Regions from separate parts of the Homo sapiens genome. Here region 2 is linked to region 1. Evidence: promoter capture Hi-C in 16 types of primary human blood cells and fetal thymus (Javierre and others, 2016). All regions are on one chromosome and are shown on one strand. Each heading gives the region's core, a stretch centred on a gene start or on the middle of the fragment in contact. The rest is flanking DNA. Distances are from core to core; before and after follow the strand shown.

Evidence for each region. The method cuts DNA at HindIII sites, captures the fragments that hold promoters and counts their contacts. A CHiCAGO score of 5 or more calls a contact.
Region 2: a contact is called between a fragment that was not itself captured here and the fragment with the promoter of VDAC3 in region 1, in 1 of 17 cell types (megakaryocytes). The highest score is 5.3, in megakaryocytes.

The regions. Positions count from the first base shown.
Region 1 is chr8:42,390,562-42,393,902 of GRCh38, reverse strand. It overlaps VDAC3 (voltage dependent anion channel 3), which reads right to left and starts at 2,023. Exons shown (of 10, transcript NM_005662.7): 1 at 1,975-2,023; 2 at 19-58. It also overlaps a transcript of DKK4 not described here. RefSeq lists enhancers at 1,518-2,018, 2,019-2,519 and a silencer at 1,747-2,276. The HindIII fragment of the contact is 9,991 bases long and covers 1,122-3,341 here.
Region 2 is chr8:42,300,575-42,303,915 of GRCh38, reverse strand. The region is part of intron 5 of IKBKB (inhibitor of nuclear factor kappa B kinase subunit beta); the gene reads right to left. It overlaps LOC105379395 (a long non-coding RNA gene), which reads right to left. Exons shown (of 2, transcript XR_949714.3): 2 at 2,569-3,341. Among named protein-coding and RNA genes, the nearest start is that of IKBKB, 31 kb to the right of the region's middle. The HindIII fragment of the contact is 1,230 bases long and covers 1,191-2,420 here.

The DNA of each region.
Region 1 (3,341 bases), core at 774-3,273:
AATATATGCAAAATTTACCTTAGAAAAATCTCTCTCAGGCTCTTATGAAACCAAAGACCTGTATAAGACAACAATGGAAATTTTTAAAGAAACTGTTAAAAGATGCAATCAAAATCCTCAGGGTTAACATTTTTCTCCTCTGAAATTCAGTTCTTAAAATAAGAATTTACCATACGAATTGAAGTGTATTCATCTAGAATATATCTTCTCTCAAAGCTCTTCTTAAAGTGCTATAATTTTACCCATTAACCAGAAATATGACAGATTCTACCTGCAGCAACCTGCTTACCAAAAGTTAGTGTAAACTCTGAAGTTAAAGCCTTCAAAAACCTCAGGTGCCTTGATTTTTCATCTTGCCTACTAAAAATCTGCCCAGCTTTGCTACTGGTAATATGACCCTCATATCAAATTCTCAGAGCTATCAACACTGCTGATTATCTCATTCCTTTGCCCTCTTTGTATCATGGGAAATCTTTCTGCAGCAGGTTCTTCTGTATTCCTCTCGCAGACTCAAAAGCTATGTCTAACCAATTACAGAGCCACCTCTAGCAGTGCCATTAGCCCATATGTCAGAAAAATCCAGAGTACCAGCTAGCCCTTGCAATTGCTACGCCTGAATGATCTACACATTTAAGCTCATATTTATTTATATATAGCCCAGCTCTTAATCCAGACTTCTGCTAAGCTTCTGCCTACCCCATCATACCAAACATATACATATGATGCACTTAAATGGGAATGCATTTAAGTTTTGTTCCTTAACATAAACCTGTCAAATATGACAGACACTATGATATAAAGAGACTAGTATAAAAAACTAAAAAGAAAAAAAAATTAAAGAGGAAACGGTAGTATAAATGTACTGACTCATTCCATAGTAAAACTTTGCTCTAAGCTACCAGGTTTCATAATTCACTTACAGAACGATTATTTTACAATTCAATCCCTTGTACTAAAGTGATCAATTCTAGGCTTTTTATATTATCCCAATTGCAATTTGATATTACTCTTTATGATTACAACTGATGTTGATATTTGTTGAAATTTTGCCAGAAGTCTGTAATTTGGGAAGTAAGTATAGAAATGCAGGCAGTATATATTGAAATAGAAATGTTAAAGCTTTACAGTCTGGTTTTTCATACTGCCGAGAAAAGATACACTTAAATGTTTAGAAGCACTATATATACGTCTAGGGACTATTTACAATATTTCAGCATTTTGTTTTGTTATTTTTCAAAACCAGTACGAGATACTATGCAAAAGTCACGTAGCTGGTTTAGTATACTAACTGACCTCAATTCTGCCTAGTTCAAGCTGACTTTTTCAGGCCTATGACTCTGATGGGAAATGCACTGCTAGTATGATCAAGCAAAAATCGAGAACAACAGAAACTTCATGTTCCTCGAGAGTAAAGCTACAACCACACGTCTCCACCAGCTCTACAGAATGCACCTGCCCATAGATGTGCACACTGCACAGAGGCTGCAGGAGACGCAGACGGGGAAAGGCGTTAAGCCGGTTGCTACTGCTTTACAAAGCCACTAACTTGACAGCCAGTACAGAGCCCTTTTCGTTCCTCGCTTCTCCGTTTTGAATTGCACGCAGGGCACCCTCCCTCGGCCGTAAGGAGGGGGCAGGGGCGGGCGGGAGATGGGTGTGGGGTTCGAGGATCCAACTTCCCTAGAACCGATCTCCTTTCTAGCTGACCCCTGGGAGGAAAGTGCGGTCCACACGCCGGCGGGATAGGTCGCTGCCCGCGCCCGGAGGCCACTTGCCCCGCCGTGCTGCGGCTCCATCGCCTGAGGTGGCCCGGGCGGGTCCCGGCGGGAGCGAGCGGCCCCGGCCCCCCGCGCCCCGGTAGCCTGCTCCCTGCCCACAGAGCCTCCGTTAGGCCCGCCTCCCGCCTGGCGCTCTGCTCGGCCGCGGCCCACCGCTCTCCGGGACTGGAGCCCGCGCGGCCTCAGCTCTCCTCACCTCCACCCCGAGGGCCTGTCTCTGCTCCGCCAGGGCAACGCTGAAGGTCTTCAAACCAACGCCGTCCGCGCCTGCGCAGCCTCGCACCCCCAGCCGCGCCTGCGCGCCGCCCCTCCCCGAGAGCGCCTGTGCGCCGGCGTGTCGCGCCACGGTCGCGCGCTTCGGAGCAAGGCGCGGAGACGAACAGCCGGGCCAAGCCAGCACCACCAACTGTCCGGCTCCGCAGCGCGCGTGCGCAGGAGGGCTCGGTGTGGACAGTGAGGTTGACTGGGGGCCCAAGAGGCTGGGGACCGCACCTGTGCCCTTGAGGGGACTCATTCTCGCGAGAATGCGCGAGGTTGCTAGTTAACTGTTGCCATGGGTGCGGCCGCGAAAAGGCCGCAGGGTGCCGGACCCCAGGTTTGAGGCATGCCGCAGGCCGGAGTGTAGTGGCGCGATCTTGGCTCACTGGAGCCTCGACCTCCTGGGCTCAAGCCGTCCTCCTGCCTAAGCCTCCTGAGTAGGAGGGTCCACAGAAGCGCGCCACCACGCCCGGCTAATTTAATTTTTTTTTTTTTTTTTTTTTGGTAAAGACGGGAATCTCCCTATGTTTCCAGGCTGGTCTCGAACTCCACGGCATAAGTGATCCGCCCGCCTGCGCCTACCAGAGTGCTGGGATCACAGGCCTGAGCCCACGCCCAGCCTCTTATGGGAATTTCATTTCAGACTGACCAGACTTCAAGAGTGTCACTCTTAGGTCATCTCGTCTTAAGGATGAGAATACACAGGTCCCCAGGGAGTAAGTGATTGATTCAAGATCCCACAAGTAGTGAGAGATGATAATTCAAAGGGGCAGAGGATGTGGAGGAGAAAAAGCTCTTCTGTAGAGGAGAAGACCAACTAATAAAGGTAGAATAGATGACAGAAATAGAAAATCATCGTCTTGGAACCACCATGATAATAATTGATTCAGGCTGAAATGATCAGTGGACCGTTGAGGATGTTCATATGGTTTCAAAGTATCACCCCCATAGATTACTCACTAAAGAGAAAAGGGTACCTTCACATCAAAGAGACTGATCAAACGGGGGATGGTAGGGACTGACATATGCCCCTGGTGTGAGGCACAGAGAGGGACACAGAGATAATATTCTTGTAAAAGTGTGTAATTTGCCTCTCTTCAGGACGAAACAATCAGGCAAATCCAAACTGAGAGACCTGCAAGACAACTGCCCAGTCTTCAAAAATGTCAGTTTCATGAAAGATTAGGAAAAAGGCTAGTGAACTGCTCTAGGTTAAAGGAAGCAGCCTGTAATCCCAGCACTTTGGGAGGCAGAGGCGGGCGGATCATGAGGTCAGGAGATCGAGACCATCCTGGCTAACACAGT
Region 2 (3,341 bases), core at 556-3,055, 90 kb after region 1:
AAGAGAGGTGGGGAAACAATATCTACAACACATACACCAAAGAGTAAAGATACCTAATAGATAAAAAGCTCTTATAAATCAATAAGAAAGCAATGCAGAAGAAAAATGGGGCTGGGCGCGGTGGCTCACGCCTGTAATCCCAACACTTTGGGAGGCCAACGTGGGCGAATCACCTGAGGTCAGGAGTTCAAGACCAGCTTGGCCAACATGGTGAGACCCTGTATCTACTAAAAATACAAAAAAATTAGCTGGGTGTGGTGGCATGCCCCTGTAATCCCAGCTACTCGGGAGGCTGAGGCAGGAGAATTGCTTGAACCCAGGAGGCAGAGGTTGCAGTGAGCCGAGATCATGGCCACTGCACTCCAACCTGGGTGACAGAGTAAGACTCTACCTAAAAAAAAAAAGAAAAAGAAAAAGAAAAATGGGCAAAGAATGTCAAGTGGTGAGAAAGCACAGAAGAAGAGATACAAATGGTATCACTTCACTGGTAGCCCAAGGATACTTACTGCATATCTTGAATGAAATAATTAGAAACAGACAGTCATTAGGAAATGTTAGAACAAATTATGGTAGTGCCACATTAGAACAGGCAACTCTTGGGTCTATATTTTCTGACTCAGAGGGATAGTTAATGGTATGACCTGTTTCTTGTTTAAAACTTAAAAAGTCAAAAGCAGTAACATTCAGAGGTTTAACAATGAACCCTCTGTATGCCGTCGCCGCCACCACCATTCTCATTCTCTCTGTTTCTCTCTCATTCTCTCTCTCATTCTCTCTCCTCTCTCTCTCTCTCTCATTCTCTCTCTCTCTCTCTCTCTCTCTCATTCTCTCTCTCTCTCTCTCTCTCTCTCTCTCCCTCTCGGCAAGCCGGGGAGGGGAAGACCCCTGAGGCCCAGGCAGCGATCCTATCTGCTGTCATGGGTACGGCCCTCTGTGCAGGGTAACGGAAAAGCCTTCCACAGAAACTGAGTAAGCAAACATTCTCTGCAAAGACTCTAAGCTGAACATTTGCTGAAAACATATTTAAGAGTCAAACTGAGAGCTGAACAACTGACTTCCACCTTATTAAAGGAGTTCCAGCTCAGAACATTAAGCTATACATGATGAGTATCTCTTATCCAAAATGCTTGGGATCAGTTTTTTTTTTTTTGGATTTTGGAATACTGGCATATTCCTAATGAACCCAAGCTTAAACACAAAATTCATTTGTTTCATATATACCTTATATGAAACAACTGAATTTTTATAAATGATTTTATAGTCTGATGGTAATTTTATACAATAGTCTTAATAATTTTGTGCATGGAACAATGTGTTAAGTACTTAAGTGTGGAATTTTCCACTTCTGGCATCATGTCAGTGTACAAAAACCTTCAGATTTTACAGCCCTTTAGATTTTGGACTTTGGGATTAGGGATGCTCTATCTGTGGTGCCAGATCTCTCCTTGCATCTGCTCTTTTAAGTCCAGCCTTCGACCATGTGGTTCCAACATATCATACTGTTCCTTACTTTTCATTTCCTTCCTAAGTGACAGAGTAGATCAGCTTAGGTCCAATTAATGTCCAGATGAGGTGAAAGACTCGCTGCTTTCCATGTGCCTAAAAAATTATATTTCATCTTGTTCTCAATTGTGTTAATGTTTCAAGACCAATGCTTCTCATCAGCACTTTTATTTTTGTTTTACTTTTATTAAAAATCAAAGCAAATGAAAAAGCATAATAAATTAAATGAAGTATAAAAAATAGCTGCACTAACACAGCCTTGCAGACAGGGATGGCACTGCTGTTGAATATGAACTACTGGCTGGCAGAGAGCAAGGCCATGCAATAACTCAAAGTGTCTGTTAACTGATAGGTTCACAAAAGACCTGTTTTGGTATATGACAGACTGCTGGAGAGTATCAGGATGTAATACATAAAAGTGTAGGTTAGTTTTTTCCAAAGCAGAATATATGGAAGTTGAGATACTGTAATTTGAGCAAGTACACATGCCCAGACTGAGACAAGGCCCCCAGAGCTGGAGGCTAACATCTCAGGGCAAAACCCAGGGCACAACCAGGTGAGATGTCCCCAGAACCCCCCAGTGAAGAGGAGGAGCATTCGGATTAGACCAAAGGCACCGCTCTCTACGCCACGTGGATTAGAGTTGTCACCAGATCTTCAGTGAGGAGGGACAAGAGGTTGGTAACTGAATACTCTGACTACTATTAATATCTGTCTATTTTTATGCTTAAACAACTGTACAAAACAAACTTTATTCCTCATTTCGGGGTGGTCATCTATTCTTCAATACCTCTGTCAACTTAATAAAGTCCAGATTTAAAGAATCCAACAGGTATTGTTACACATAGTTTCTGGGACTGAAATGTAAAAATTCTGATAGGCAAGTCCTCTTAAATGTACCCTGCAGAGAATAAGCTTTCAAAAAGCTTGGTTCAGTATCACTGTGCTACATTTTACAAAACAGTACTTCAGAGCTAAAGTGAAATGAATCAAAATTGTTTCAAGCCCAGAGAATCTAACTTTGTTTAAATTTGATGAAAAATGAGACATTGAGATGAAGAAAAATACTGTTGAATCTGGAAGTTTATTAAAAATCTAAATCCCTGGCAATAGCAGTAAGACATGTTTATAAAAATTAAAAGCCACACCACAAAGCATAAAACTGTACCAGGTAATTTTTCATGTTCCCATTACAGAGAAGAGCTGTGAGAAGCACCACATTGCAAACTATTAAGCTATTCACAACTACACAGTGAGGCCAGGCATGGTGGCTCACACCTGTAATCCCAGCACTTTCGGAGGCCGAGGGAGGAGGATCCCTTGAGGCCAAGAGTTTGAGACCAGCCTGGGCAATATAGCAAGACCCTGTCTCTACAAAAAAAAAAATTTTAATTAGCCAGGCATGGTGGCGCATGCCTTCATCCCAGCTACGTGGGAGACTGAGGTGAGAGGATCACTTGAGCCCAGGAATTCAAGGCTGCGGTGAAACATGATCGTGCCACTGCACTCTAGCCCGGACAACAGAGCAAGACCCTGCCTCTAGAAAAATGCAAAAACTAAAATAAACGACACAGTGCAGTGTATGCAGGAAAAACACAAAAACTAAGATAAATGACACAGTACATTTCCACAGAATGGGTCCACATGGCAGACTTGCCATAGGAAGATAACAGCCTCCTTCTCTCACCCTCCTCAGAAGCCGTGCCCCGGTGGTAACCCCAGCCTTTCCCTGGCTCATGAGGAAGGCACAAACACATAACTGAAGAACGCTGACAATCCTGTGGGTCTTATTGATGAATCACAGCTCCGAATCACAGCCCCACAGCCCTATGTATTTT